Linked DNA regions of Homo sapiens: region 2 is linked to region 1. Evidence: promoter capture Hi-C in 16 types of primary human blood cells and fetal thymus (Javierre and others, 2016). All regions are on one chromosome and are shown on one strand. Each heading gives the region's core, a stretch centred on a gene start or on the middle of the fragment in contact. The rest is flanking DNA. Distances are from core to core; before and after follow the strand shown. Region 1 holds the start of BATF (basic leucine zipper ATF-like transcription factor). Region 2 has its middle 18 kb from the start of LINC01220.

Region 1 (4,095 bases), core at 765-3,264:
AATGCCCAAGGCAAAGCCAGGCCAGACCAGTCAATTATCAGCCAACCTACCAGCTGTCTGAGGACACATGACCGAGCCTAGCCGAGATCAGCCTAGCCCAGCCTATCCCCAAAGAACCTTTCAGATGACCCACAGACTCATGAGCCAAATAAATGGCTTGAGTCATCGAAGTTTCTGGTAGTTTTTTGGGCAGCGAACACTGATAGACTATCTCATTTAGACAAAAAGTCAAGCTTCTTTTTACTAACTGTATCCTCAGTACTTAGTGCCTGGCACATGGTAGATGCACCATGAACGTTTGTTGAATATATTAATAAAGGTGTAAATGGTTTTAACATTCTATTGAGGGAAACAGGAAAAAGATAAATCAGTAAACGAATAAAATAAGTATAAAATTGGGTAACTGCTATGGGAGAAATGAATAGTAGCTGAGGTAGAGGATAAGAATGAAGGTGGAAGGGGAAACCCTCCATGGGCTCACTGTGTCTTTCAGAATGAAAGCTAAAATCCTGATGTTGGCCTCTAAGGCCCTCCCTGACCGGGCCATTACCTCACTGACCTCATCGCCTGCCACTTTTGCTGCCTCTGATATCCAACTACCTGGCCCCCCTGCTCTTTTTCCAATACTCAAGCACACTTCCACCTCAGGTCCTGGAATGTCCTTCCCTGAGACACTCACCATTCACTCCCTCTCTTTCTTCGAATCTCTGCTCAGGTATCCCCTCTTTGGGCAAGGCCCTTCTGACCACCCAGAATTCCCTAACCTCCAACCCTGCTTTATTTTCCTCCATAGGAAAGGAATTTTGTCTTACTTAATTTAACCTTAGGGCAATATTGTCTTAGTCTAGAAATTCAGCTCATGGATACAAAAATCCTCTAGGAGCCGTAACTTCCTGTCAATCCTAAAATTTAATAAGGCAAATGTTTGGCTTCGAGCCATACTGGGAATAAGGTAAGGCCTTTTGAAAAAGCCACGATGCCCAGGTGAGGGTTGAATTGATCACTGAGAACCCTACAAATGCGCTCATGGCAAGGCTGGGAATACCCTACACTTACCCTCTCGGTCATTTACTTCAGAGTCTGCGGGGCATTCTAATCCGCGTTGTCATTTGCTTTGTGCCACATTCCTAAGAGGTAGGCAGGGCAGGTTTTATCATCCTCTGTTTACAGATGAAGATAATGAAGGTCACATAGCTCAAGTGAGCTACCCAGGGCCACAGACATACAAAGTGGTAGAACCAGAATTTAAATCTTGGTTGGTCTGACTCCAAGTGTAGTATTTGTTTCACTTTTTCTTTCTTTCTTTCTTTCTTTTTTTTTTTTAACTGTTTCTGCATTCTGGGTTCTGACCAGGTGACCTTGAATCATAAAGATTCAGGGCCTGTCTTGAGCTGCTCAATATGGAAGGCATCTTTTCTCTAAAGAGTGTGAGCTCCCTGCCAAGCAGCACAGGCGCTTAATAGGCTTTCAGAGCAGCAATTCTAGAACCTCCCTTGTGGCTTTCTGATCTCCCACAGCCCTTGTGTTTGATGGTCAGGAAAGGAGAATACCCTTGGATCGTCTTATCTCCAGACCACCCCGAGGCTGGCTGGACTTAAGGGGTGAGGAAAGACAAGATGGGTGAGCAGCTGCTTTCGGCTGAAAACCAGAAAGAAATCCCAGTGTTTTTGCTTTATTTTGGTTTAAAAATCAAGTCGTATGACAATGGAAACATTTTCCTGGTTGTCCTCTCCTCTCTGCCCATGTTGACAGAAGACGGACTTGCTAATTCTGGCTGGGGTTTTTCCCTGCCTGGGCTGTTTTTCTCTTTTATCTTCATCAATTGAAGAGGGCTGCTGTGTCTTTCAAACTGTCGGAAGGTATCTGTATTTTTTTTTCTTTCACATAATTCTGTAGGTCTTTTCCCAGATATGTATTTTTCTCTCTAACTTCTAACTCGCTGAAGTTTCCGCCCATGTGACTTCCAGCGTGAGTTACCAGAAACCACAAGAGAGAGAGAGAGCGTGCAAGCCCCAAAGCGAGCGACATGTCCCTTTGGGGAGCAGTCCCTCTGCACCCCAGAGTGAGGAGGACGCAGGGGTCAGAGGTGGCTACAGGGCAGGCAGAGGAGGCACCTGTAGGGGGTGGTGGGCTGGTGGCCCAGGAGAAGTCAGGAAGGGAGCCCAGCTGGTGACAAGAGAGCCCAGAGGTGCCTGGGGCTGAGTGTGAGAGCCCGGAAGATTTCAGCCATGCCTCACAGCTCCGACAGCAGTGACTCCAGCTTCAGCCGCTCTCCTCCCCCTGGCAAACAGGTAGAGTCCTCCTTTTTCTCTCTCCTACCTTCTGATTCTCCTGGGGGATGGAAAGAGAGCCAGGCTTCCTTGTCCTGCCCAGGGAGCTGAGGATGGAGGAAGTGGCTCGTTGCACGGGCACTCTGTTAGACTTAGGACATGGAATTTGCTACTAAGCTGTGCATATTGGCAGAGATCCTCATCCTTCCACCCATTCTGCCAAAGCCCCTTTTTCTCTCCATTTTCCAAGGCTGCCTATCACCTCTGCCTCACTGGGGTTGCCACCCTAAAAAGCTTTCTAGGAAGCAAAGAGGAGGATGAACATCAAAGAATGCAGAGAAAAGAGTCTACTGTTCTCCAAGGCTGTAGAAAAGTGAGAGGAGTTTTCAAGTGGGCCGCTGGCATGCACAGCTCAAATCCTAGATATGCAGTTTCCCAGGAGACAGCCAATAGGGAAGGGGAGAAAAGGGGTTAGGGAAAAGTTAAAAAAAAAAAAAAAGAAGAAGAAGAAGAGGAAGAAGGAGGAGGAGGAGGAGAAACCCAGGCTAGCATAGAAGGATCTCTCTACTGGGGCACTGCCTCTGTTGCTAGCACAGCCAGCAAGGGGAGATGCTAGAGGTCCAGCCAATATCTCTTTGCTTGTGGCTTCTGGATAGGAGCAAGGAAATGAATGAGGAGGTGGCTCTGGAAATTTGTTGGAAGACATTTGCTGGTAGTTCATCTTAGCTCTGGGGAAACCAGAGAGACTGAGATAGGGATTGTGGGAGCATTTGGAGTCTAGATTGTGACTTCCAAGTCCAAAGGTTTTAGCTTGAGGATTACCAAAAAAGGAGTGCCCTGCCCATCTCACAGCTTCTAGGGTTTTGTTCTGCACCACACTCTTGACATCCCTTGCTGTAGGAAGCCCTCCTCTTTCTCATCCGACATGTATCCGTGGGTTAAAATTTTCTCAACCTTCATAGTTTAAAAACTTCATTCTTTCCTTAGCACAGATATCCACAAGGGTTTTCAAAATGCTGCAGCCAAAATAAAAGTATATAAATATTGAACAGGGCGTATATCCTAAGCCTCTAATAACGGAGCAGCAGGCTGGGATGAGTCTGGGTGGAGACCTCTAGAAGGCACAGAATCCAGTCTGCTGCTCAAGATGGTGTCAGAGTGGCTCTGACTGCCTGGAAGTTTGTACTTTTCTTAGGAAGGAAATTACTCATGGCTTCCATGGTAACCTGGTGCCCCATCCCCCTTAGAGGAAGAGCACTTCCTTCCTATCTATGCCAATGACCTCCTACCACAAAGGCCTGAAAGTATTGGACATGTTGGTGAGCCCAGTACTTAGTGATCCCAGAGCTTTGCCCTTGGATCTGTGCCCCTCTAGCCTGTGGGAGACGTGGAAGGGAACAGGGCATGAGTTGCCAGGACTCCTACACCTACACTGCAGCATCTGGGAGAGAACTGGAGCTAACCTCTCTGCCCAGGCACAGGACATGCCTCTCTCTGGGTGTAATTAGAGAACACCCAAAGATCCCCTTATCCTACCAAGCACCCATCTACTGCCCACCACAGCCAGGTCACCTCCACCATTAACGTTCTTTTTGGCATTGATGTGCCAGGCATTGTGCTGGGGCCATGGGGAATGTCACAGTGGCTGAGCACAACGGAAGGAAAGAGGAGGCAGATCTGGGATGCACCCTCAGCTCAGGAATGCAGCAGAAGACCACATGGGGTGCAGAGTAGCTAGCGGGGAAGGGTCTTGGAAAGCCATTGGGCTCAGCACCAGAAGATGTAGCACTCTCAGATGACCAGGAGTCCTTGGGCACACTCTTAG
Region 2 (3,956 bases), core at 1,277-3,776, 210 kb before region 1:
CACAAGTGTGGCATTCGGGAAGCCAACATGGTTTAGTGATAGGGTTCTTGTTGGGTGTGCAGATTGGGGCATTTCACAGATTATCTGATGCTCAGTCTCTCTATGGGCTCTGCCTTGCCTAAAGGGCAAGTGTGTGTTCATCAAACAGGGCTTCTTTAGGCCTTGTTACTGTGATGGGGGAAATACTCCAAAGTGCCAGGAAACCCTGCCCGGGCAGGGAGCAGGACTTCTCAGTATCCCAGGGATTCGGATCTCAGCCCCCTGCAGCCAATCAGCAAAGGAGCTGTTTCAAACTGACAAGCAAAACAAAGCCCAACAAAAGCAGCTGGAGCCCAAACAAACAGAGTTGGGTGAGGTTGGGAAGGGGAGTCAGGTCTGGCGTCATCCGGCTCCAGGCCAGGCTGTTGCCATGGTGACAGCCAGTCCGTTTACCAGCGGGCAGCAGAGCCAGCTTTCTGAGGGGGAAGCCCAAGGAGGGGAGGAGGAGCAGGGGTGCCCCAGGGGAGCCTGCGCTTCTCCAAGTTACAGAAATCCATAGAGAAGGCTCGGCCACTTCCAGGGAGCAGTGCCTTCTCTCAGGAGCTGGGCAGGCAGCCCGGGGGGCAGTGGGCTGGGAGAAGCCGGCCTGAGAGGGACGGAAGTGTCCACTGAACAGGCAAAGAGGCCTCTGGGAAGGCTAGAAGGCTTTCTGGGCAGAACGGATTTGCAGCTGTGTTGGCTTTCTGGGCAAAAGATGAATTGAAGTAAATCACAGAGTGTTTTAAAATAAAAAACTCCCCCAAACCACACACACACACACACACACACACACACACACACACACACGCCAATGGAGGAGAGAGAGGGCTTTGGGAACCTCAGCGGTGGAACACGGAAATACCTTATATTCTTCTCCAGGAGCATTTTTTTTTCTACTCTGATAATGACAACTCAAGTAATTACCTGCAAGACAAGAAGAATGAACAACAGTCAATGCAAAATGTTAGAAAACATCTGCTTTGCAGGGCTTGTCTATCAAAGCCCGACTCTGTGCCTGAATGGTGTTCAGGTCCCTGAAGGTGGGCCGCTTTAGGATATAGACACTCTTTCTGGCCAACGGGCAATATGAGCCAAAACAAATGCAGTGGAAGAAAGAATCTTGGCATCTTCCTCCAGAAATCTTGCTGCAAAAGTGTCTATCACACAGAAGGAAAAATAGCTTATGATTCTACTCATGTGAGCTTCCTAGAGTAGTCAAATTCAAACAGACAGAAAGTAGAGGGGTGATTGCCAGAGGCCGAGGGGAGGGGAAAATGGGGAGTGAGTATTTAATGAGTATGAAGTTTCAATTTGGGAAGATGAAACATTCTGGAGATGATGGTGATGAGAGTTGCACAACAATGCGAATGTACTTAATGCCACTCAACTGTAGACTTTAAAAGTTTCAAACAGTAAACTTTGTTATGTATATTTTACCATAATAAAAATAAATGTGTCTGTCAGTAAAGACTGTCTTCTTGCTGCAGCAGGAAATGGTGTTGGCTTGAAGGCCAGCATCGAGGGCACGTGGGTTCACCTCTTTGAACCTCAGCTGTATCATCCATCAAATGGAACTTACACTATCTTCCTTACTGCCAACTGTGAAGAGTGGATATGAATGCATTTAGTGAACAGAAATGCACCATAAGAATGTAATTTTTTTTTTTTAATTTGAGATGGGGCCTCCCAAAATGTTGGGATTATAGGCATGAGCCACTGAGCCTGGCCAAGAATATAAAATGTGATTAAAGTATTATTTCAAAATTCATTGTTATGGTACCCAAATGCCAAGAGGCAAAAGGAAAGGAGAAAGGGAGAGTTTTGGAGGAAACTAAGGAAAGGGTTATTTATATCTGGCATTTCTAGGAATTGGAAAATACCCAAATACCGTAGGAGAGTTGGAGAGAATTTTGGGCTCGTGCTCAGGGGCCTGAAGGTAAGACCAACTTGGACTATCATGGCAATTTAAAATACTTCTCCCTTTTGCTCTGCCTAAATTGAGAAACAGGTTAAGCCCACCCATCAAGAGGAAATGAAACAAAATGAAATAATGTCAAAACATCACCTCTCAAATTTCATGAAGGGAAATGGTACAGTTACAACACAATGCTGGGTGGAAGCTTATGGGACCTGGAGCCTCCAGGCATGGGTAGAACCCAGGTTCATCACCAGAGAGTCCCATTAACTGTCAATGATTTATTCAATGCATTTCTTTTTTCTATTTAAAGAAATAAGCCATTGGCCGGGTGCAGTGGCTCACGCCTGTAATCCCAGCACCTTGGGAGGCTGAGGCAAGCAGGTCACTTGAGGCCAGGAGTTCGAGACCAGCCTGGCCAACACGGTGAAACCCTGTCTCTACTGAAAATACAAAAATTAGCTGGGTGTGGTGGTGGATGCCTGTAATCCCAGCTACTCGGGTGGCTGAGGCAGGAGAATCACTTGAACCTGGGAGGCGGAGGTTGCAGTGAGCTGAGATCACACCACTGCACTCCAGCCTGGGCAACAGAGTGAGACTCCGACTCAAATAAAATAAAATAAAGAAATAAGCCATTCATCACTACCATCACTTTTATCATTACAAAATGTTTTATTAGCATATATTAGCATGTGGCAAGCACCAATTTAAATGTGGTACACACCTTATCTTTTCATTCCTTGCAAGGTGCAGCTTTTTTATAGATAACAATATGAGACTCACGATTACTGATTTGGTCTTTCTGGTTCTTTGTTTCCTGATTGATAAAATGAGAATAATGTTATAGCTAGAGAAGTTTAGCAGCTTGCCTCAAGTCACAAAGCTGGTAAGTAGTAATGTCAGGATTTCAACCCAAGTTCATCTGACTCCAAAGTTCCACCTTTGAATGCTATACTGCATTGGAGGAAACATTATTGCTAAGAAGCTTATGAAAGAAAATTGCTAATGAATATTATGCTCTGAGAGCAATTAGAATGTGCAATTGGTAAATCGCCTTATCATGGCATTGCATGATGTCACAATGACATGCAATGGGGAAGAACAATGAGCATCATGGGTGTGTATTAGCAGAGATTTGGCTTTAAAATGGAATGAAACCACAAAGTACACAAAGAACAGAGTATGAGGCTGGGCGCAGTGGCTCATGCCTGTAATCCCAGCATTTTGGGAGGCGGAGGCAGGTGGATCACTTGAGGTCGGGAGTTCAAGACCAGCCTGGCCAACATGGTGAAACCCCGTTTCTACTTAATATACAAAAATTAGCCGGGCATGGTGGTGCACACCTGTAGTCCCAGCTCTTCAGGAGGCTGAGGCAGGAGAATCGCTTGAACTCAGGAGGTGGAGGTAGAGGTTGCAGTGAGCCGAGATCACGCCACTGCACTCTAGCCTGAGCGACAGCACGAGACTCCTTCTCAAAAAAAAAGAAAAAAAGGACAACTTATGAAACAAGGCTTTGCTGCTTTATGTATGTGTACTGTGTATGTTTTGTTGAGTACGTGCTGTATGCTGCACGTGTTGCATGTGTATGTGTGTAACGTGGGTGTTGTGTGTGTGTGGTTGCATAAGTGAAGGAGAGTTGCATGATGAGTGATTTCTTCAATACTGAAGGCCGTACAGTCCCACAGCCAACACATAGTGCTTCCTGTGAGCCAGGCATTCCACCCAGTGTTTTACATATAATCCCTCACTCATCTTCACAACAACTTTGTGCGGTAGCTAGTAACAGTATTCTCATTTAGTGGACGAGGAAATGGAGGCTCAGAAGGATCAAGCATCTTGCCCTAGATCACCTAGATGGTACAAGGGAGAGCTGGGATTTGAACCCAGGCAGACTGGCTTCAAATTCTGTGTTTTGGTCTTTTCTTCATTTGTGTCCCTCTCGCCTTGTGAGAAATGATAGAATTATTCTCATTACATGATGGGAGAACCTGGGAACAATGTGAACATGTGTTGGCTCAGACAA

What was found. The method cuts DNA at HindIII sites, captures the fragments that hold promoters and counts their contacts. A CHiCAGO score of 5 or more calls a contact.
Region 2: a contact is called between a fragment that was not itself captured here and the fragment with the promoter of BATF in region 1, in 2 of 17 cell types (activated CD4 T cells and M1 macrophages). The highest score is 6.9, in activated CD4 T cells.

The regions. Positions count from the first base shown.
Region 1 is chr14:75,520,455-75,524,549 of GRCh38, forward strand. It overlaps BATF (basic leucine zipper ATF-like transcription factor), which reads left to right and starts at 2,015. Exons shown (of 3, transcript NM_006399.5): 1 at 2,015-2,291. The coding sequence starts at 2,229. RefSeq lists an enhancer at 1,983-2,312. The HindIII fragment of the contact is 2,331 bases long and covers 232-2,562 here.
Region 2 is chr14:75,310,459-75,314,414 of GRCh38, forward strand. No RefSeq gene overlaps it. Among named protein-coding and RNA genes, the nearest start is that of LINC01220, 18 kb to the left of the region's middle. The HindIII fragment of the contact is 780 bases long and covers 2,137-2,916 here.